Linked DNA regions of Homo sapiens: region 1 is linked to region 2. Evidence: promoter capture Hi-C in human tissues and cell types (Jung and others, 2019). All regions are on one chromosome and are shown on one strand. The core of a region is centred on a gene start or on the middle of the fragment in contact, and the rest is flanking DNA. Distances in the headings are between cores, read along the strand shown.

The links. Contacts are between HindIII fragments. The study calls those that stand out against the background at their distance.
Region 1: a contact is called between a fragment that was not itself captured here and the fragment with the promoter of UPK1B in region 2, in 1 of the 25 tissues and cell types used here (pancreas).

The regions. Positions count from the first base shown.
Region 1 is chr3:119,130,549-119,136,858 of GRCh38, forward strand. It overlaps a transcript of IGSF11 not described here. Among named protein-coding and RNA genes, the nearest start is that of TEX55, 12 kb to the right of the region's middle. The HindIII fragment of the contact is 5,527 bases long and covers 1-4,295 here.
Region 2 is chr3:119,167,689-119,175,035 of GRCh38, forward strand. UPK1B (uroplakin 1B) reads left to right here and starts at 5,910. Exons shown (of 8, transcript NM_006952.4): 1 at 5,910-5,950. The HindIII fragment of the contact is 12,321 bases long and covers 1,977-7,347 here.

The sequences.
Region 1 (6,310 bases), core at 282-2,781, 42 kb before region 2:
TCAGGAAGCTCGAACTGGGCAGAACCCACCACAGCTCAGCAAGACCTACTGCCTCTGTAGACACCACCTCTGTGGGCAGGGCATAACTGAACAAAAGGCAGCAGACAACTTCTGCAGACTTAAACGTCCCTGTCTGACAGCTCTGAAGAGAGCAGTGATTCTCCAGACAGACTGCCTCCTGAAGTGGGTCCCTGACCCACATGTAGCCTAACTCAGAGACACCTCCCAGTAGGGGCCAAAAGACACCTCATACAGGCAGGTGCCCCTCTGGGACGAAGCTTCCAGAGGAAGGATCAGGAAGCAATATTTGCTGTTCTGCAATATTTGCTGTTCTGCAGCCTACACTGGTAATATCCAGGCGAACGGCCTGGAGTGGACCCCCAGCAAACTCCAACAGACCTGCAGCTGAGGGATCTGACTGTTAAAAGGAAAACAAAGAGAAAGGAATAGAATCAACATCAACAACAAAAAAATCCTCACCAAAACCTCATCAGTAGGTCACCAACATCAAAGACCAAAGGTAGATAAAACCACAAAGATGGAGAGAAATCAGAGCAGAAAACCTGAAAATTCTGAACACAAGAGCGCCTCTTCCCCTCCAAAGGATCGCAGCTCCTTGCCAGCAACAGAACAAAGCTGGACAGAGAATGACTTTGACAAGTTGACAGAAGTAGGGTTCAGAAGATCAGTAAATAACAAATTTATCTGAGCTAAAGGAGGATGTTCTAACCCATCCCAAGGAAGCTAAAAACCTTGAAAAAAAGGTTAGATGAATGGGTACTAGAATAAACAGTGGAGAGAAGACCTTAAATGACCTGATAGAGCTGAAAACCATGGCACAAGAACTTCATGATGCGTACACAAGCTTCACAGCAGATTCATTCAAGTGGAAGAAAGGATATCAGTGATTGAAGATCAAATTAATGAAATAGCGAGAAGACAAGATTAGAGAAAACAGAGTAAAAAGAAGGGAACAAAGCCTCCAAGAAATATGGGACTATGTGAAAAGACCAAATCTACGTTTGACTGGTGGACCTGAAAGTGATGGGGAGAATGGAACCAAGTCAGAAAACACTCTTCAGGATATTATCTAGGAGAACTTCCCCAACCTAGCAAGGCAGGCCAACATTCAAATTCAGGAAATACAGAGAACACCACAAAGATACTCCTCAAGAAGACTAACCCCAAGACACATAATTGTCAGATTCACCAAGGTTGAAATGAAGGGAAAAAGGTTAAGGGCAGCCAGAGAGGAAGATCAGGTTACCTACAAAGGGAAGCCCATCAGACTAACAGCAGATCTCTTGGCCAAAACCCTACAAGCCAGAAGAGAGTGAGGGCCAATATTCAACACTCTTGAAGAAAAGAATTTTCAACCCAGAATTTCATATCCAGCCAAACTAAGCTTCATAAGTGAAGGAGAAATAAAATCCTTTACAGACAAGCAAATGCTGAGAGATTTTGTCACCACCAGGCCTACCTTACAAGAGCTCCTGAAGGAAGAACTAAATATGGAAAGGAATGACCAGTACCAGCCACTGCAAAAACATGCCAAACTGTAAAGACCATCGATGCTATAAAGAAACTGTATCAATTAATGGAAAAAATAACCAGCTGACATCATAATGACAGGATCAAATTCACATATAACAATATTAACCTTAAATGTAAATGGGCTAAATGCTCCAATTAAAAGACACAGACTGGCAAATTGGATAAAGAGTCAAGACCCATCAGTGTGCTATATTCAGGAGACCCATCTCACATGCAGAGACACATATAGGCTCAAAATAAAGGGATGGAGGAAGGTCTACCAAGCAAACAGAAAGCAAAAAAAAAAAAAAAAAAAAAAAAAAAAAGCAGGGGTTGCGATCCTAGTCTCTGATAACACAGACTTTAAACCAACAAAGATGAAAAGGGACAAAGAAGGCCATTGCGTAATATTAAAGGGATCAATTCAACAGTAAGAGCTAACTATCCTAAATAGATATGCACCCAATATGGGAGCACGCAGATTCATAAAGCAAGTCCTTAGAGACCTATAAAAGACTTAGACTCCCGCATAATAATAATGGGAGACTTTAACATCCCACTGTCAATAGTAGACAGATCAATGAGACAGGTTAACAAGGATATCCAGGACTTGAACTCAGCTCTACACCAAGCAGACCTAATAGACATCTACAGAACTCTCCACCCCAAATCAATAGAATATACATTCTTCTCAGCACATCACACTTACTCTAAAATTGACCACATACTTGGAAGTAAAGCACTCCTCAGCAAATGTAAAAAAATGGAAATCACAACAAACTATCTCTCAGACCACAGCACAATCAAATTAAAACTTAATACTAAGAAACTCACTCAAAACCACACAACTACATGGAAACTGAACAACCTTCTCCTGAATGGCTACTGGGTAAATAACAAAATAAAGGCAGAAATAAAGATGTTCTTTGAAACCAATGAGAACAACGACATAACATACCAGAATCTCTGGGACACATTTAAAGCAGTGTGTAGAAGGAAATTTATAGCACTAAATGCCCACAACTGAAAGCAGTAAAGATCTAAAATCAACACCATAACATCACAATTAAAAGAACTAGAGAAGCAAGAGCAAACAAATTCAAAAGCTAGCAAAAGGTAAAAAATTACTAAGATCAGAGCAGAACTGAAAGAGATAGAGACACAAAAAAACCCTTCAAAAAATCAATGAATCCAGGAGCTGGTTTTTTGAAAAGATCAACAAAATTGATAGAACGCTAGCAAGACTAGTAAAGAAGAAAAGAGAGAAGAATCAAATAGGGGTGCAATAAAAAATGATAAAGGGGATATTACCACCAATCCCACAGAAATACAAACTACCTTCAGAGAATACTATAAACACCTCTATGCAAATAAACTAGAAAATCTAGAAGAAATGGATAAATTCCTGGACACATGCACCCTCTCAAGAATAAACCAGGAAGAAGGTGAATCTCTGAATAGACCAATAACAGGTTCTGAAATTGAGGCAATAATTAATAGCCTACCAACCAAAAAAAGTCCAGGACCAGACGGATTCACAGCCAAATTCTAAAAGAGGTACAAAGAGGAGCTGGTACCATTCCTTCTGAAACTATTCCAATCAATAGAAAAAGAGGGGATCCTCCCTAACTCATTTTATGAGGCCAGCATCATCCTGCTACAAAAGCCTGGAAGAGACTCAACAACAAAAAGAGAATTTTAGACCAATATCCCTAATTAACATCGATGCGAAAATCTTCAATAAAATACTGGCAAACCGAATCCAGCAGCACATCAAAAAGTCTATCCACCATGATCAAGTTGGCTTCACCCCTGGGATGCAAGGCTGATTCAACATATGCCAATCAATAAACGTAATCCATCACATAAACAGAACCAAAACCACATGATTATCTCAACAGATGCAGAAAAGGCCTTTGACAAAACTCAACAGCCCTTCATGCTAAAAACTCTCAATAAACTAGGTATTGATGGAACACATCTCAAAATAATAAGAGCTATTTATGACAAACCCATAGCGAATATCATACTGAATGGGCAAAAACTGGAAGCATTCCCTTTGAAAACCACCACAAGACAAGGATGCCCTCTCTCACCACTCCTTTTCAACATGGTGTTGGAAGTTCTGGCCAAGGCAATCAGGCAGGAGAAAGAAATAAAGGGTATTCAATTAGGAAAAGAGGAAGTCAAAGGGTCCCTGTTTGCAGATGACATGATTGTCTATTTAGAAAACCCCATCGTCTCAGCCCAAAATCTCCTTAAGCTCATAAGCAACTTCAGCAAAGCTCAGTATACAAAATCAATGTGCAAAAATCACAAGCATTCTTATACACCAATAACAGACAAACAGAGAGCCAAATCATGAGTGAACTCCCACTCACAATTGCTACAAAGAGAATAAAATACCTAGGAATCCAACTTACAAGGGATGTGAAGGACCTCTTCAAGGAGAACTACAAACCACTGCTCAATGAAATAAAAGAGGACACAAACAAATGAAAGAACATTCCATGCTCACAGATAGGAAGAATCAACATCATGAAAATGGCCATACTGCCCAAGGTAATTTATAGATTTAATGCCATCCCCATCAAGCAAAATGACTTTCTTCACAGAATTGGAAAAAACTAAAGTTCATATGGAACCAAAAAAGAGTCCACATAGCCAAGACAATCCAAAGCAAAAAGAACAAAGCTGGAGGCATCACGCTACCTGACTTCAAACTATACTACAAGGCTACAGTAACCACAACAGCATACACAGATACACAGACCAAAACAGATACACATACCAATAGAACCGAACAGAGGCCTCAGAAATAACACCACACATCTACAACCATCTGATCTTTGACAAACCTAACAAAAACAAGAAATGGGGAAATGATTCCCTATTTAAAAGTGGTGCTGGGAAAACTAGCTAGCCATATGTAGAAAGCTGAAACTGGATCCCTTCCTTACACCTTACAGAAAAATTAATTCAAGACGGATTAAAGACTTAAATGTAAGATCTAAAACCATAAAAACCCTAGAAGAAAACCTAGGCAATACCGTTCAGGACATAGGCATGGGCAAGGACTTCATGGCTAAAACACCAAAAGCAATGGCAACAAAAGCCAAAATTGACAAATGGGATCTAATTAAACTAAAGAGCTTCTGCACAGCAAAAGAAACTACCATCAGTGTGAACAGGCAACCTACAGAATGGGAAAAAATTTTTGCAATCTACCCATCTGACAAAGGGCTAATATCCAGAATCTACAAAAAACTCAAACAAATTTACAAGAAAGAAACAAACAACCCCATCAAAAAGTGGGCAAAGGATATGAACAGACACTTCGCAAAAGAAGACATTTATGCAGCCAACAGACACATGAAAAAATGCTCATCATCACTGGTCATCAGAGAAATGCAAATCAAAATCACAATGAGATATCATCTCACGCAGGTTAGAATGGTGATCATTAAAAAGTCAGGAAACAACAGATGCTGGAGAGGATGTGGAGAAATAGGAACGTTTTTATACTGTTGGTGGGAGTGTAAATTAGTTCAATCATTGTGGAAGACAGTGTGGCAATTCCTCAGGGATCTAGAACTAGAAATACCATTTGACCCAGCCATCCCATTACTGGGTATATACCCAAAGGATTATAAATCATGCTACTATGAAGACACATGCACACGTATGTTTACTGCAGCACTATTCACAATAGCAAAGACTTGGAACCAACCCAAATGTCCACCGATAATAGACTAGATTAAGAAAATGTGGCACATATACACCATGGAATACTATGCAGCCATAAAGAAGAATGAGTTCATGTCCTTTGCAGGGAAATGGATGAAGATGGAAACCATCATTCTAAGCAAACTATCACAAGGACAGAAAACCAAACACCACATGTTCTCACTCATAGGTGGGAACTGAACAATGAGAACACTTGGACACGGGGAAGGGAACATCACACACCAGCACCTGTCATGGGCTTGGGGGCTGGGGTAGGGATAGCATTAGGAGAAATATCTAATGTAAATGACGAGTTGATGGGTGCAGCGAACCAACATGGCACATGTATACCTATGTAACAAACCTGCACATTGTGCACATGTACCCTAGTACTTAAAGTATAATAATTAAAAAGAAAAAAAGAAGACAGAAAGGAAAGAAAGAAGGAAGAGAAGACTACAAAACAACCAGAAAATAAATAACAAAACAGCAGGAATCAGTTCTTGTTTATCAATAATAATGTTGAATGTAAAGGGACTTAACTCCTCAATAAAAAAGACATACAGTGGCTGAATGAATAAAAAGAAAAACATGACCCAATGATCTGTTGCCAATAAGAAACACACTTCACCTATGAAGGCACACATAGACTGAAAATTAAGGGATGGAAAAGGATATTCCATGTCTATGGAAATCAAACAAAGAGCAGGAGTAGCTATATTTATATCAGACAAAATAGATTTCAAGACAAAAACTATAAAAAGAGACAAAGAAGGTCACTATATAAAGATAAAGGGATCAATTCAGCAAAAGTATATAACAATCATAAATACATATGCACCTAACATGGGAGCACTCATATGTTATTAGAGGTAAAGAAGGAAATAAACCCCAGTACATTAATAGCTGAAGATTTCAACACCCCGCTTTCAGCATTGGACAGATCTTCCAAACAGAAAATCAACAAAGAAACTTCAGATCTTTGTCTGCAGATCCAGATATAATCTTGTATTTGGAAAAACCTCGGGACTCCACAAAAAAAAACTATTAG
Region 2 (7,347 bases), core at 4,660-7,159:
GCTGGTTTTTTGAAAAGATCAACAAAATTGATAGAATGCTAGCAAGACTAATAAAGAAGAAAAGAGAGAAGAATCAAATAGACGCAATAAAAAATTATAAAGGGGATGTCACCACCAATCCCACAGAAATACAAACTACCATCAGAGAATACTATAAACACCTCTACACAAATAAACTAGAAAATCTACAATAAATGGATAAATTCCTCGACACATACATCATCCCAAGACTAAACGAGGAAGAAGTTGAATCTCTGAAAAGACCAATAACAGGCTCTGAAATTGAGGCAATAATCAATAGCTTACCAATCAAAAAAAGTCCAGGACCAGATGGATTCACCGCCGAATTCTACCAGAGGTGCAAAGAGGAGCTGGTACCATTCCTTCTGAAACTATTCCAGTCAACAGAAAAAGAGGGAATCCTCCCTAACTCATTTTATGAGGCCAGCATCATCCTGATACCAAAGCCTGGCAGAGACACAACCAAAAAAGAGAATTTTAGACCAATATCCTTGATGAACATCGATGCAAAAATCCTTAATAAAATACTGGCAAACTGAATCCAGCAGCACATCAAAAAGCTTATCCACCATGATCAAGTGGGCTTCATCCCTGGGATGCAAGGCTGGTTCAATATACGCATATCAATAAATGTAATCCAGCATATAAATAGAACCAAAGACCAAAACCACATGATTATCTCAATAGATGCAGAAAAGGCCTTTGACAAAATTCAACAACACTTCATGCTAAAAACTCTCAATAAGTTAGGTATTGATGGGATATATCTCAAAATAATAAGAGCTATCTATGAAAAACCCACAGCCAATATCATACTGAATGGGCAAAAACTGGAAGCATTCCCTTTGAAAACGGGCACAAGACAGGGATGCCCTCTCTCACCACTCCTATTCAACATAGTGTTGGAAGTTCTGGCCAGGGCAATCAGGCAGGAGAAGGAAATAAAGGGTATTCAGTTAGGAAAAGAGGAAGTCAAATTGTCCCTGTTTGCAGACGACATGACTGTATATCTAGAAAACCCCATCATCTCAGCCCAAGATCTCCTCAAGCTGATAAGCAACTTCAGCAAAGTCTCAGGATACAAAATCAATGTACAAAAATCACAAGCATTCTTATACACCAATAACAGACAAACAGAGAAACAAATCATGAGTGAACTCCCATTCACAATTGCTTCAAAGAGAATAAAATACCTACAAATCCAACTTACAAGGGATATGAAGGACCTCTTCAAGGAGAACTACAAACCACTGCTCAATGAAATAAAAGAGGATACAAACAACTGGAAGAACATTCCATGATCATGGGTAGGAAGAATCAATATCATGAAAATGGCCATACTGCCCAAGGTAATTTATAGATTCAATGCCATCCCCATCAAGCTACCAATGACTTTCTTCACAGAATTGGAAAAAACTACTTTAAAGTTCATATGGAACCAAAAAAGAGCCCGCATTGCCAAGTCAATCCTAAGCCAAAAGGACAAAGCTGGAGGCATCACGCTATCTGACTTCAAACTATACTACAAGGCTACAGTAACCAAAACAGCATGGTACTGGTACCAAAACAGAGATATAGATCAATGGAACAGAACAGAGCCCTCAGAAATAACGCCGCATATCTACAACTATCTGATCTTTGACAAACCTGAGAAAAACAAGCAATGGGGAAAGGATTCCCTATTTAATAAACGGTGCTGGGAAAACTGGCTAGCCATATGTAGAAAGCTGAAACTGGATCCCTTCCTTACACCTTACAGAAAAATTAATTCAAGATGGATTAAAGACATAAATGTTAGACCTAAAACCATAAAAACCCTAGAAGAAAACCTAGGCAATACCATTCAGGACATAGGCATGGGCAAGGACTTCATGTCTAAAACACCAAAAGCAATGGCAACAAAAGCCAAAATTGACAAATGGGATCTAATTAAATTCAAGAGCTTCTGCACAGCAAAAGAAACCACCATCAGAGTGAACAGGCAACCTACAGAATGGGAGACAATTTTTGCAACCTACTCATCTGACAAAGGGCTAATATCCAGAATCTACAATGAACTCAAACAAATTTACAAGGAAAAAACAAACAACCCCATCAAAAAGTGGGTGAAGGATATGAACAGACACTTCCCAAAAGAAGACATTTATGCAGCCAAAAAACACATGAAAAAATGCTCATCATCACTGGCCATCAGAGAAATGCAAATCAAAACCACAAGGAGATACCATCTCACACCAGTTAGAATGGCAATCATTAAAAAGTCAGGAAACAACAGGTGCTGGAGAGGATGTGGAGAAATAAGAACACTTTTACACTGTTGGTGGGACTGTAAACTAGTTCAACCATTGTGGAAGTCAGTGTGGCGATTCCTCAGGGATCTACAACTAGAAATACCATTTGACCCAGCCATCCCATTACTGGGTATATACCCAAAGGATTATAAATCATGCTGCTATAAAGACACATGCACACGTATGTTTATTGCGGCACTATTCACAATAATAAAGACTTGGAACCAACCTAAATGTCCAACGATAGACTGGATTAAGAAAATGTGGCACATATACACCGTGGAATACTATGCAGCCAGAAAAAATGATGAGTTCATATCCTTTGCAGGGAAATGGATGAAGCTGGAAACCATCATTCTCAGCAAACTATCTCAAGGACAAAAAACCAAACACTGCATGTTCTCACTCATAGATGGGAATTGAACAATGAGAACTCATGGACACAGGAAGGGGAACATCACACACCAGGGACTGTTGTGGGGTGGGGGGACGGGGGAGGGATAGCATTAGAAGATATACCTAATGCTAAATGACGAGTTAATGGGTGCAGTACACCAACATGGCACATGTATACATATGTAACAAACCTGCATGTTGTACACATGCACCCTAAAACTTAAAGTATAATAATAAAAAAAAGGGATATTGTGAAGAGTAAATTTGGCAGTACCTGGGACTTTTACTATATATTAAAAATATTGTAGACAACATCATGTTTTGAGAAGTGTTTTTGCTGAAATTGGTAACTAGAGAAAGCAAAAGGCATTAAATAACCCACTTTCCGAACTTCCAGTAGGGAGGCAGCCTCTTTCTCACCCAGTTTGCACTATAACTCCCTACCTCGCCATAGGAAAGTCAATTTGAAGTGAGGGATCTGTTAGGGAATGCAGAGAAGACAAACATTCCAGTGGTTCCTTGCCCCGAAGATGACAGAGGAAAACCTCATGAGGACTGAAAAGTTTGAGTGTGTATGTAGGACCAATTCTTCTAGCCCAGTTAAATATCACATGAGTCACCAGGCCTGCTAACTTGCCTTGGAACTACCACAGAGAAGGAAAAGCTTTGGAGGGTGATGGTGCAGTGGTATGGCCCGACAGAGAAGGGGACAAGCATGCCACCTTTAGTTCTAGGTTCCTGAGATGTGCAGAAGGTAGAACCCAGCCACCTGAGAACTGGGGTCCTGGAGGGTAGGTGAGATTGAAGGACAAAGACTGACTGCAAACCAATGAATGAGGCAGAGCACCCTCTGAGGCTTAGGAACTCGTGGGGTTCAGTAGGGCTCTCCTCGGCCAGCCCTGTGCACTGCCCTTGTCTACACTGCTGCTGGTGGTGGTGAACTAGACAGTGGGGATGGCCAACAGAAAGGGATAGAGCCTCTCTCTGGCCACTCACACAGGACGACATCATTTCCCTCTCAAATGAACATACACAGGGAGTTGGGGGGTTATTAAAGACCTCAACTTCTCCCCAAAACTACTGGAGTCTGTAGTTTGAATTGTGGTGATAGGAAGAAAATATCTAAGTGTTTCTAACAGAAGTGAGATATTAGTAATGAGAATTCACTGATGAGCTTGGAATCAGGTTAAGATGTGGGTAAGGGAGCCACCTAGCCAGAGAGAAAGGAAGATTAGCAGAAGAGAGTTAGAAATAAATTAACTGGAAAAAAATAAGCCTGTCATACATTAACGACTTGACGTTCCTCAACTATTCAGTTGCAGTTATTATCTGAAAACTAATCTTCCTTTTCCTAGCTAGTCTCTTGTCTCTTGTTATTGGGTTTGTGTTCACATTATCTATTTTGAAGATTTTCAAATCTTTTTGTTTTCTCCCCATATAATCATGGTAATGGAACATAAAATGCCTAAGACATGAATGAAAATTCACATGTCCTTGTTTGCTTCCTTGCTACTTTATCACAAATATTTCCAGGACAGCACATGTTTTTAATAACTTGTACGTTCTTATAATTATAATATAGATCCTTTGTAAACATATGAACTGCAAAAATAGAAGACTGTAAAAGTCACCCATATTTTACCATTCAGATATATTCTGGTTAATGTTTGCTGTATACTATTTCTAACTTTTTAAGTCATAGGTAAACTTTCTTAAAAATTAAAATGTGTCAGATTACACAAACTATTTTGTAAACCGCTTTTTCATTTTCAGCCTCTAGAAGAGTGCCTGGCACATCCTAAGTTTTCAATAAATATTTGTCAAATAAATGACTGAACTTATTTCCATACCATTAAATGTTTATCTGTGGTGTCATTTTTAACCATTGCACAGAATTCTATTGTGTGAAATATGATAATTTATCTAACAAGGCCCTGAAGAGCTGCAGAGGAATAAGGCCTTGTGATGGACACAGAGGTGCTCCATGCAGTCCCCCTTGAAGTGGGAGGTTGCCCTGCTGCTGGGAGTACTTGCAACCTCCAGCCTCCAGTTATCAGCCCCTTTCAGGACTTGCCTCAGCTACAGAAAGCTGCCTTCCCAGGGTAATCCACATTGAAGGGCAGATCATAGAGGAGCCCAGTGTCAGAGCTACTCTGACAGGCCATCTTCCTCCAGAGTTTCCTGAGGAGGGCTGCTTAAGACTGTCCCATCTATATTGCAGCTCAACTTCTTCCTCTGCCCAGTCCTGTTTCTCCCCTCTCCCTGCCATGGGTGTTAATCTCAGGGCACTGTCTAATAAATATATTGCACACTAAATTTTGTCTCAAAGTCTGCTCCTGAACAACCTAACCTGCAACAGAGATGATGCTGACCTTTGAGGAACTCCCAAGTCTATTGGTAAAAGCACTCAGTAAATTCTAACATTACTGCAGTTACCGATTCCTAACTCAGGTTAAACAAGCGATGGCGCATGTATACCATGATAGGTTATGCAGCCATTAAAATAATGTTCTGGGTGCCATGTATAACACATGATGGCTCCAGAAGTCAGGGAAGAAGGAAAAAAGAAGGGAAGGGAAGAGAAGAGAAAGGGAGGGAAGAAGAGGGGAGGGAAGAATTGGACATCAGATAATCACTTGAGCCCTCTCTCTCCGTGAATTTTTCCCAATCTGTTTCTTTCCACATCTCTTGCTCCTTATCAGTCTTTGGGCCACCTACAGTATGAGCATTACTTGGGCAATTACTGTCTCTCTGAATTTGGCATATGCAAATTATAGAAACTAAAACTGGACATGGCCCTACACAGGTAAGCACATATCAGCATCGCTGTGAGCGGTCAGGACTAACAAGCCTTCAACACACAAAAGCAGGAGTAAGGATCAAATTACACAAATCAAATCAAATCAAATCAAAATAAAATCCCTGAGTTTGTATTCCAGTAAAGCCCAAACCTAGGAGGGATCCAGGAAAGCGATGAGTGTGGCTGTCAAGGTGCTTCCATCTGTCAGAGTCACACATTCCAAAGCAGCAGAAATCAACTGACAGCCTCCGGTTACTCCCCCGCCTCAGCGAGGCAGGGCAGGCAGCGGAAAGCTCAGCCCATGTGAGGTGCCTCCTGCCAATCACAGACTACCCTTCCCTGGTCCTGGAGGTTCAAAGAATTGCAGGAGGGTAGAAAAGCACCTGGGTCGGGTGCAGACTGCGGAGCGGGCCCTACCGTGTGCGCAGAAAGAGGAGGCGCTGTGAGTAGACCGCTTTCCCTCTGCAGGGAATCTCCCGGGCTCAAGGGCTGGGTTGCTCTCCTGGGAGGGAAGCTAGCAGACTGGGAGGGAAAGGGGAAGAAGTTAGATTCTTGATTCATAAAGTCTGTCATTTTTTTCTTTGTAATTTAGGGTATTGTGACTGTCCTGTTCTCTTTTACTTTGAACCGTTGGAATTGCTTTCTTAATACCCTTGATATAAGTCTTGTTCTCATTAAACTTCTGGAGATATTACGCAGCCATCCTGCTTTCAACCTCAGATATCCCCACAGAAAGAACAAGAAAATCCAAGCACCCCGAGAAACCCTATATCTCCTGATTAAATCGCACATAGACAGTCACCTTTGTAGACCCCCAATTTCCTTGTGGAGTCAGAAAAGCAATAGAAAGTTTAACGAAATAGCTCGTGTTATTTCTTAATAATCTGTTCAGGCTAGCAGAGAGAAAGTTTCTTGGTCTTCTTGTCAGAAATCATTTGGTCCTGCCAACCTGTAATGAAATGTGTGAAGCAATTTACTCCCAGTTATTCTCTGCAAACACTTCTGCTTAATAAATGTGTCAGTTGAAGTAAGTCAACAAAGTAGCTTTATCTACGCAATGTTATTTTTACATAATTTGTTTTTACTCCTTACCAATTCTTTGCTCCACCATGATCTGCAGGACATAAAGATATTTTTCATTCTGATCACATTTTCACACAAAATACAAATTTAAGTTTCAAATAATGCTAGTATTATTTTATGTTTGCATTTGTTTATAAACCTAAAACTCCACTTCTAACTAGTTTTAAAGATTTTTAAGCCATTTAAGAATTCGTAGCCAGTCACAGTGGCACATGCCTGCAGTTCCAGCTATTCGGGAAGCTGAGGCCACGTGATCAGGAGTTCTAGTCCAGGCTGGGCAACATAGTGAGATCCTGTCTCTAAAAAAAATAAAAATAAATTTTTAAAGAAGTTTTGTTAACTTGAATGTCTTCTTTTAATGAAAGACAACGTTTCTTGAACATTTCTTGCCTGAGTTGCTAAGCACAACAGGAAAGAACTCATTAGGTTTTATAGATATACATACTTTGAGTATAAACAAAATTTAGGTTACATAGTTTTCAGACCCTATGAAGAAGTGGATTTTCTTTTTATTAACCTTCTCAGTGAGGAGAAAAATTTCTTACTTTGCTTTCTGCTCCAACAGATTGTTTTGCTTTCTGCTATAAAATAGTCTTTAAAATCAACTCACCTATTTTTTTTTTTTTTAACTGCTGGGAAGAATCATAGACTTTTACATCCAAAGGGGACCTTAGACATCATTTAATCAAGGGGAAAAAAAAGAAACTCAGAACTTTTTTTTTCTTTTATTTTCTTTTTTTTTTTTTTTTTTTTTTT